Regions from separate parts of the Homo sapiens genome. Here all the other regions are linked to region 3. The links are contacts of gene promoters, found by promoter capture Hi-C in blood cells and fetal thymus (Javierre and others, 2016). All regions are on one chromosome and are shown on one strand. The core of a region is centred on a gene start or on the middle of the fragment in contact, and the rest is flanking DNA. Distances in the headings are between cores, read along the strand shown.

Evidence for each region. The method cuts DNA at HindIII sites, captures the fragments that hold promoters and counts their contacts. A CHiCAGO score of 5 or more calls a contact.
Region 1: a contact is called between a fragment that was not itself captured here and the fragment with the promoter of NSMAF in region 3, in 1 of 17 cell types (monocytes). The highest score is 5.4, in monocytes.
Region 2: a contact is called between a fragment that was not itself captured here and the fragment with the promoter of NSMAF in region 3, in 1 of 17 cell types (naive B cells). The highest score is 5.5, in naive B cells.

Annotation. Positions count from the first base shown.
Region 1 is chr8:57,427,161-57,429,860 of GRCh38, reverse strand. No RefSeq gene overlaps it. Among named protein-coding and RNA genes, the nearest start is that of LINC00588, 150 kb to the right of the region's middle. The HindIII fragment of the contact is 4,467 bases long and covers 1-2,700 here.
Region 2 is chr8:59,930,983-59,933,682 of GRCh38, reverse strand. No RefSeq gene overlaps it. Among named protein-coding and RNA genes, the nearest start is that of CA8, 350 kb to the left of the region's middle. The HindIII fragment of the contact is 1,876 bases long and covers 490-2,365 here.
Region 3 is chr8:58,658,497-58,661,324 of GRCh38, reverse strand. NSMAF (neutral sphingomyelinase activation associated factor) reads left to right here and starts at 1,472. Exons shown (of 31, transcript NM_003580.4): 1 at 1,472-1,752. The coding sequence starts at 1,694. RefSeq lists silencers at 1,395-1,734, 1,745-2,194 and enhancers at 1,906-2,468, 2,645-2,828, 2,469-2,828. The HindIII fragment of the contact is 3,520 bases long and covers 1-2,419 here.

The DNA of each region.
Region 1 (2,700 bases), core at 57-2,556, 1.2 Mb after region 3:
CTTAAACAAATTCACAAAAGGAAAACAAAAAACAACACTAAAAACTGGGTAAAGGACATGAACAGGTACTTTTCAAATGAAAACATGCATGCAGCTAACAAGCGTATGAAAAAACCTCAATATCACTGATAATTAGAGAAATGCCATCCAAAACCACAATGAAATACCTTCTCACACAAGTCAAAACGGCTATTATCAAAAAGTGAAAAAATAACAGGCTGGCAAGGTTGCAGAGAAAAGGAAACATTTATACACTGTTGGTGGGAGTGTAAATTAGTTCAGTCATTGTGGAAAGCAGTGTGGCCATTCCTCAAAGAGCTAAAAACAGAATTACCATTTGAACCAGCAATTCTATTACTGAGTATATACCCAGAGGAATATAGATCATTCTATCATAAAGACACATGCCACGGAAATGTTCATTGCAGTGCTATTCACAATAGCAAAAACATACATAAGCAACCTAAATGCTGTGGATGATAGACTGGATTAAAAAAATGTGGTACATATACATCATGGAATACTATGCAGCCATGAAAAAGAATGAGATTATGTCTTTTGTGGAAACATAGATGGATCTGGAGGCTATTATCTTTAGCAAATGCGGGAATAGAAAACCAAATACCAAATACCACATGTTCTCACTCATAAGTGGGAGCTAAATGATGACAACTCATGTACCCAAAGAAGGTAACAATAGACACTGGGGTCTACTTGAGGGTGAAGGGTGGGAAAAGGGAGAGAAGCAGAAAAAATAACTACTGAGTACCGGGCTTAACACCTGGGTGATGAAATAATCTGTACAAAAAACCCCGTGACACAAGTTTACCTATGTACCAAGCCTCCACATCTACCCCCAAACCTAAAATAAAAGTTAAAAATAAAACGTGCTCCAGTCAGTGGAAATCTTGTAGGTCTTGCTTCCAAAAGTGGCTGCTGACCAGGGCTGAGCTCTTGCCTTATCTGTGCACATCAGGGCCTATTTATAAAGAGCCTCAGAGTCAGCTGTTGGATGTTATCTCTGACTAGGTTATATAAATAGCTACACAGATGCACTGACAGAATTTAAAAAAAAAAATCCTTCATACCACTTCATTTGTTAATTGGAAATATTTAAAGTATACCACAATTTTTATAATCTTGTTTCCTAATTATAATTATTTTGTTTGGCCGGGCGCAGTGGCTCATGCCTGTAATCCCAGCACTTTGGGAGGCCGAGGCAGGCAGATCACGAGGTCAGGAGATCCGAGACCATCCTGGCTAACACAGTGAAACCCCGTCTCTACTAAAAAAAAAATACAAAAAATTAGCCGGGGGTGGCGGGCGCCTGTAGTCCCAGCTACTGGGGAGGCTGAGGCAGGAGAATGGTGTGAACCCGGGAGGCGGAGCTTGCAGTGAGCTGAGATCACGCCACTGCACTCCAGCCTGGGCAACAGAGCGAGACTCTGCCTCAAAAATAAAATAAAATAAATAAAATAAAATAAAATATTATTTTGTTTATTTATTTGTAGTATATCAGAAGCCTCAGGCTGGGCAAGGTGGCTCATGCCTGTAATCTCAGCACTTCGGGAGGCCGAGGAAGGCAGATTACCTGAGGCTGGAAGTTCCAAACTAGCCTGACCAACATGGAGAAGGCCCATCTCTACTAAAAATACAAAAAAATTAGCTGGGCGTGGTGGCAAGTGCCTGTTATCCCAGCTACTGGGGAGGCTGAGACAGGAGAATCGCTTGAACCCAGGAGGCGGAGGTTGCAGTGAGCCGAGATCGCGCCATTGCACTCTAGCCTGGGCAGCAAGAGGGAAACTCCGTCTCAAAAAAAAAAAAAAAAGAAAAGAAAAAAGAAAAAGCCTCAAAAAATGGAAGTGATGCAAGGATTCTGTTTCTCTCTGGATAGTCCCCTATCTGTATGTCTGTTTTCTGCTTTTGAGTTTAACTTATTTTTGGTTAAATGAGGTCATATGATGGTCAGTAGAGGTTGTTGAATAAAATAATGCGTTTTTTTGAGACAGAGGTCTCACTCTGTTGTCCAGGCTGGAGTGCAGTGGCCCAATCTCAGCTCACTGCAACCTCCACCTTCCAGATTCAAACGATCCTCCTATCTCAGCCTCCTGAGTAGCTGGGACTCCAGACGCACACCACCACGTCTGGCTAATTTTTTTTTTTTTTTTTTTTGGTAGAGAGGAGGTTTTGCCATGTTGCCCAGGTTGGTCTTGAATGCCTTGGCTCAAGTGATCTGCCTGTCTTTTGACCTCCCAAAGTTCTGGGATTGCAGGTGTGAGCCACTGCTCCCGGCCAAAATAAAATCTTTTGCTGTTAATTTTTCAACCAACAGATCACCAATTTTATTTTATTTTATTTTTTGTCTATTACTTTGGATTCAGGGGGTCCATATACAGGTGTGTTACAGAGGTAGATTGTGTGATGCTGGGGTTGGGAGTATGATTGAACCTGTCACCCAGTGGGTGAGCATAGAACCCAGCAGGGTTTTTCAACCCTCTCACCTTCCCACTGTAATATTCCCCACTGTCTATTGTTTCCATGTTTGTGTCCGTGTGTACCCAATGTTCAGCTCCTACGTCTACAGGAGAACATAAGGTATTTGATTTTCTGCCTCTGCATTAGTTTACTTTGGATAATGGCCTCCAGCTGTATCTGTGTTGCTGCAAAGGATATGATTTTGTTCTTTTTATATGACTGCTT
Region 2 (2,700 bases), core at 178-2,677, 1.3 Mb before region 3:
TTGGAGGAATTTTTCACATGCTAACCTCTGGCTCTGTGCATTTCTATCCTTATTTTTTCTCCTTTACACGTACATTTCCGGTGTGCAGAGTCACAGACATTTTCGGATCATGAGACAAACTCTGGTTGGAAGAATTAGCATAAAGAGTGACATGAGAATTCCCGGAAGAAATACCTACATCCAATTGGCTAACAAGAATGTAACTATACTCAAAAGTGACTGCAAACTGCAAAAATATGTCCTACTAAAAGCAAACTAAATGTATTCCCAACTAACCTCCCCACAGGAGAATTGCAAAATTGCCCAGAGCTACTGCAACACCACCATACAGAGGGGCAGCATTATGGAAAGAAAGTCAGTGATGAGAAACAGTGGTCTGAACCAACTGCAGCCAAAATATCTTACTTATATAAATGTTCCAAAGGCATATGATACCCGATGGCCTCGTGGGGAGGGAGGGCACCTGTGCAAATGAAGCGAGCAGAAGCTTGATGGTGAGTCTGCCTCTGGTGCAATGCTTAGAACCGCACTGGATACAGAGTACCATCCCAAGAAAAATTAGGTAAATGAAATGTTCATTGGCCATATTGGTAGGCTTTTCAGAAAACATACAGGATACTCATTTAAGTAACAGTTTTGTATAAACAGTGAATGATTTTTAGGATTAGCTATTAGGTTTTTGAGCAGTCTGCTTAACAACCGGTAAGATAAAACTTTACATGTAGCTTCTATATTTGATTTTTGTTTTTAATTTTAAATAAATTTTATTGCACACATTTAAATATTTATACCAACTGGAATTTATTTTGATAATTAATAGATGGTGTGGCTTTCACTTACTGTTTATGATTATTTCTTCTTAATGGTTTCTTACTATGCTGCATGCTTTTTGGGAACAGGCATATCTCACCTGATGTCAGAGGGAGACCAAGGGAGGGGTGGTGAACGCAGCCTGCACTGGGTGCTGGGTAAACTGTCCGTAGGGAATTTATAAACAATAATAACAGTGACTGAAAGCCGGCCAGCTTTTTATTATCATCATGCACTGGCAATTCTAAACAATGTCAGTAATAACATACTTTTCCTTGCTGGGGCAAATCTCTACCACTGCCCCGCCCCGTTGGTATGCTACTGTTTTGAATTCCTGTCTCCCAGCTCAGCGCTCTTGTTATTGAGTACAGAGTAATTTTTCTGTAAATGTTTGTGAACTGCATTGAAGTCTCACTGAGGGCCTGATCTATAGCAGCAACTTTATTAGATTTCTTTTGTTTTTGTATCCAGTTTCTCGAGAAGTTCCCATTTTTCTTCCAGCTCCTTCACTAAATTTCACCAATACAAGCCAATTTCCAGATCCATATTTTACACCCTGTCTCCTACTTCAGTACTGCTGTCTTCTCCAACAATATAACACACAGCACTTCAAAACTTCATGCTCATGATTTTCCTCCACATTTATACCAAACCTCTGCTCTGGGGGAAAATATTTTCTTTTGTTACTATTACGTGGCCTATTTTTTGGCTAGGTCTTATCTTAGTGCCACCTATCATGCATAGCAGCTGAGTACTTGACCTTTAAAATATGGAGTAAAATAAGGCCAAATTTTCATTATGTGCTGGACATTTTTCAAAGCACTTTTGCCAGCAAACAAAAGATGAGCACTTAACAGCTACTCCCTATGAGTAGGTGTTTTTCTAATCTTCCCTTCAGAGACAAGGCACTAGGAAGTGAAGTGACACTCGTCCAGCCACCCGGTAGTGAAGTGGTAGAGTCAGGCTTTGAACCGCAAGTCATTTCAGAGTCTGCGTCTGTAACCGATCTGAGCCTGATGTTTCATGTGTATTATCTGATCTCATTCTCAAAAGACTCCATGCACAAAATTATATTATTCTCATTTACAGATGAAGACACTGTGGTTGGAAAGACAACGTAACGTGTCTAAATTCATGCAGTTGGTAAGGGGTGAGGTCAGAATATGAACCCAGATCCATCTAACATGAAGCCATGCCCTTCTTGGGCATTGTTTTCCACTACCAGCTTCTGTACTGTGCCAGGATACACCATCTACAGAGGGTCCTGGGAGGCTCATGGATCACGTGAGAAGTTGCCACCACAGGTGGAAAACCACTGAAAGGAGGATAGGTGGCTCAAAGACAAAGTTCCCCCACTGTCTAATTGTAACTCTGGGCTGTCAGGGGCTTCAGGGCACCATGGTAGCTGTTGTCCAAGGTGCCTGCATTTGTCACCTGCCTCAGACACCCACAACTGCCATGGGGGCACAGCCAGTGCAATGTGGAGGTGCAAGCACCCTGGGTGGCTTAGAGATTGATGTGTAGAGAGTATCAGCCCCCCTTTTATTTTGAAGCTTTTTGGTGCAAAATAAAAACTCATAAACTAAGTTTTCTTTTCTCTTAGAAGGTTATTTGCCCTTATTACACTTTTGGTTAATGTTATGGACTTGTCCATAAATGTTTTCTCCCTGAGTTTCCTCTTCAGTGGAAAGAGAGCATGTTAATAGAAACATTTTTAAAGGGTTAAAAAAAACCCCTTTTTGTACTTAAATTTTCTGATCACATTACTTTGGTCTCTGGTTGAGATATGCAATTTTACACACTCGCCTCTTCCTATATTGTTTGTGTCCCACAGTCTCCTGGTTAAAATGGGTGAAATTTCCATTTTAATTGCTGTGAATCATTAGTTTG
Region 3 (2,828 bases), core at 223-2,722:
AGCCATCACTCCAGCCCCTTAGGGCTTATATACCATAGGGGAGGGGTGGTTCAGAAGGGATGTGTAGGACAATTGAAGTATAATAACATCAAGTTGTTTGAATTAAGGACAGAACATACTGGGTAGATACCTGCTCTTACACAAGGAACAATAGATAAAGTAGAAATCTTAGAGGCCTTCCCAGAACTGGGGTCAATCAGAAGTCAACACGGAGGATTAGCTTCCAAGATGGAGCTGCTTTCGCCTCCACATCCAGCAATTCCACTCTTAGATTCCAATTCCACTCAACAGAAATGGAAACATAGGTCCATAAAAAAACTGTACATGACTGTGTACAGCAGCCTTATTCACAATAGCCAAAATGTGGAAACAACTGAAATGTCCATCAACTGATGAATGGATAAACAAAATGCAACAGAATATGCTCCAGCAATCTAAAGGAACGAAGTACTGTACAGATACATGCTACAACATAGATGAACCTTGAAAGCATTACGCTAAATGAAAGAAGCCAGACACAAAAGGCCACATATTGTATGGCTCCATTTATATGAAATATCCAGAATAGGCAAACCCATAGAGACAGGAAATTGATTATTGTTTGCTAGGGCTGGGGTTTGGAGGGTAGAGTTAGGAAGAGTGACAGCTAGAGGGTATGGGTTTCTTTTACATGTGATGAAAATGTTCTCAAATTGTGGTGATTGTTGAACATATCTGGAAATATACTAAAAATCGCTGAATGGTATACTTTAAATGGTTGACTTGTTTGGTATGTGAGTTATATCCCAATAAAGCTGTTATATAAAAAAAAATCATGCGAGCAATTATCTCAACAATCAAGAGACTGTGTTAAAGATTCTTTGCTTGGCCAAACTTCAGTTAGGCTTCTGAATCTTCTCCCAGGTCCTTGTGTGCACTTCCTTGTAAATGCAGTGTTAGGAAGTAACACTGCCACGGCAGTTTAGCAAGAATCCCCCACCCTCCATATGTGATCAAAATTCTTTACTCCTACCCTTAGTATCTGACCCCCTGGCCTGCCTTCACTGGGACTCCTGTTAGGTTGGTTCAGCCAGAATTTCCCCCAGAATTGATGTTTCCTCTTAGCAGTTTTCCGAACACCTGCTCCTTGCTCCTTGGCTATAAATCTCCACTTATTCCTGGTGTATTTGGAATAGTTACGACTGAGTTGCCTTCACCCCTTTAACTTCCGTCTTTTTTTTTTTTTCACAATGGAGGACACAAAACGTTGTTATTTCAAGTCTTTGTGGCCAACAGATTGGTGGTTTATGGGCCAGCATCCCTTTTTATGCGTAAAATATTTAAAACGCAGCCTGCAATGGTTGGTAAAGTGGTGAAACGTTTAGTGTGTGAGGTCGGATCCTGGTCTGGCCGCTGGCCCTGGCGATCCTCTGAGGCGGCCTGAGTTTGGGGCGCCTCGTGTCACCGCGCGCCCCTCCTCCGGGCCTGAGTCACGGTGCCGCCGGAGTCCCCACGCGAGGATGCTGCGGTGAGCGCGGCCGGGACGCCGCGTCGGGCTCTCGGCCGCCCAGCGGCGCCGCAGGGGAAGCCAGGCCGGCAGCCGCGCGCTCCCCAGCCGGCCACCAATCCCGCCCTCCCCGGCTCCTCCGGACCTCCTCGGCAGGCGGCGGCGGGGCCTGCCTGTGCGCTCTGCGCCCGCCCGCGCCTACCCTCCATGGCGTTTATCCGGAAGAAGCAGCAGGAGCAGCAGCTGCAGCTCTACTCCAAGGAGAGGTGCGCGCCCAGCTGAAGAAGGGCCCAGCCGGGGGCCTAGTCGGGGCCGGTCGTGGGGACGCCGGCCGGAGATCTGAGGGACGGGAGGCGGCGTGGGGGCCGGGCACGGAGGCAGGGGCCGGACGCGTGTCCAGGGCCTGGGCTGGGGGCTGTGGCGGAAACCTGAGGTCGGGGTGAGAGGCCGGGGGCCTGGTCTGGGCCGGAGCCTGCCGGGGACAGGAACTGGATGACGGGCCAGGCCAGATTCCACCGCGGAGCCGAGGCATGCCGAGCTATCCGGCAGTGCAGGTCCCGGCGGCCGCGGGCAGCTCACCCGGAAGGCCGCGCGGGGTCCGGGCGTGGATCCCGGCACGCGAGCCCGGGCGTTCGCAGGGGAGGGTGAGTACGCTGCCCGGCGGGCACCCCCTTTCTAATCCTTCCCCTTAATCGGGTCCAGGCACTCGGCGCCGGCGCCGCAGAGTTGGTCGCCGGGCGGCACCGAGCAGGCCGGCGACCACCCACTCGCATTGCCGCGCCTTTTTCCTGCCGACTCCTTTAGACACAGGACTAGCTCCATGCCCTGGAAGGCTGGGAGGGGGGCCGCCGGAAAGGCCTGATTCTGAGGAAAGCCAAGGTCCTGCCTCCCAAACACTTGCTCCCCGCGCAGTGGACCTTGTGTTGGAAAGCTTTGCAGTCGAAATCGCGGTGCGGCAGCGGAGCACTCATTCTCACCAGCATCCCAGTAAGGATTTGGGATCCCTTGAGCTAAAATGGTCTCACAGCAGTTCCCTTTCAGATATGCTGGACCTGTCCCCAAGGGAAGTCTCATAAGAAAGCTCACTTCGGCTCTATGTATAGTTCCCAGGGCATTTTTGGTGACAGAAACAACTTGCTCGGTCTGCAGCTCAGATGCCAAAAGGAAAGGGGGGCTGAATCATTTTACAGACACACTGTTTTGATTGTGAGAGCCACAGATCTTCCAGTGCTGCTAGCCTGTCACGTTGTCTCATCAGTGAATACCAGCAAAGCAGGTTACACGTGGGAATACAAGTGCAGACTTCAAGATTTGTCTACACTTGTTTTATAAGGGTTGACTC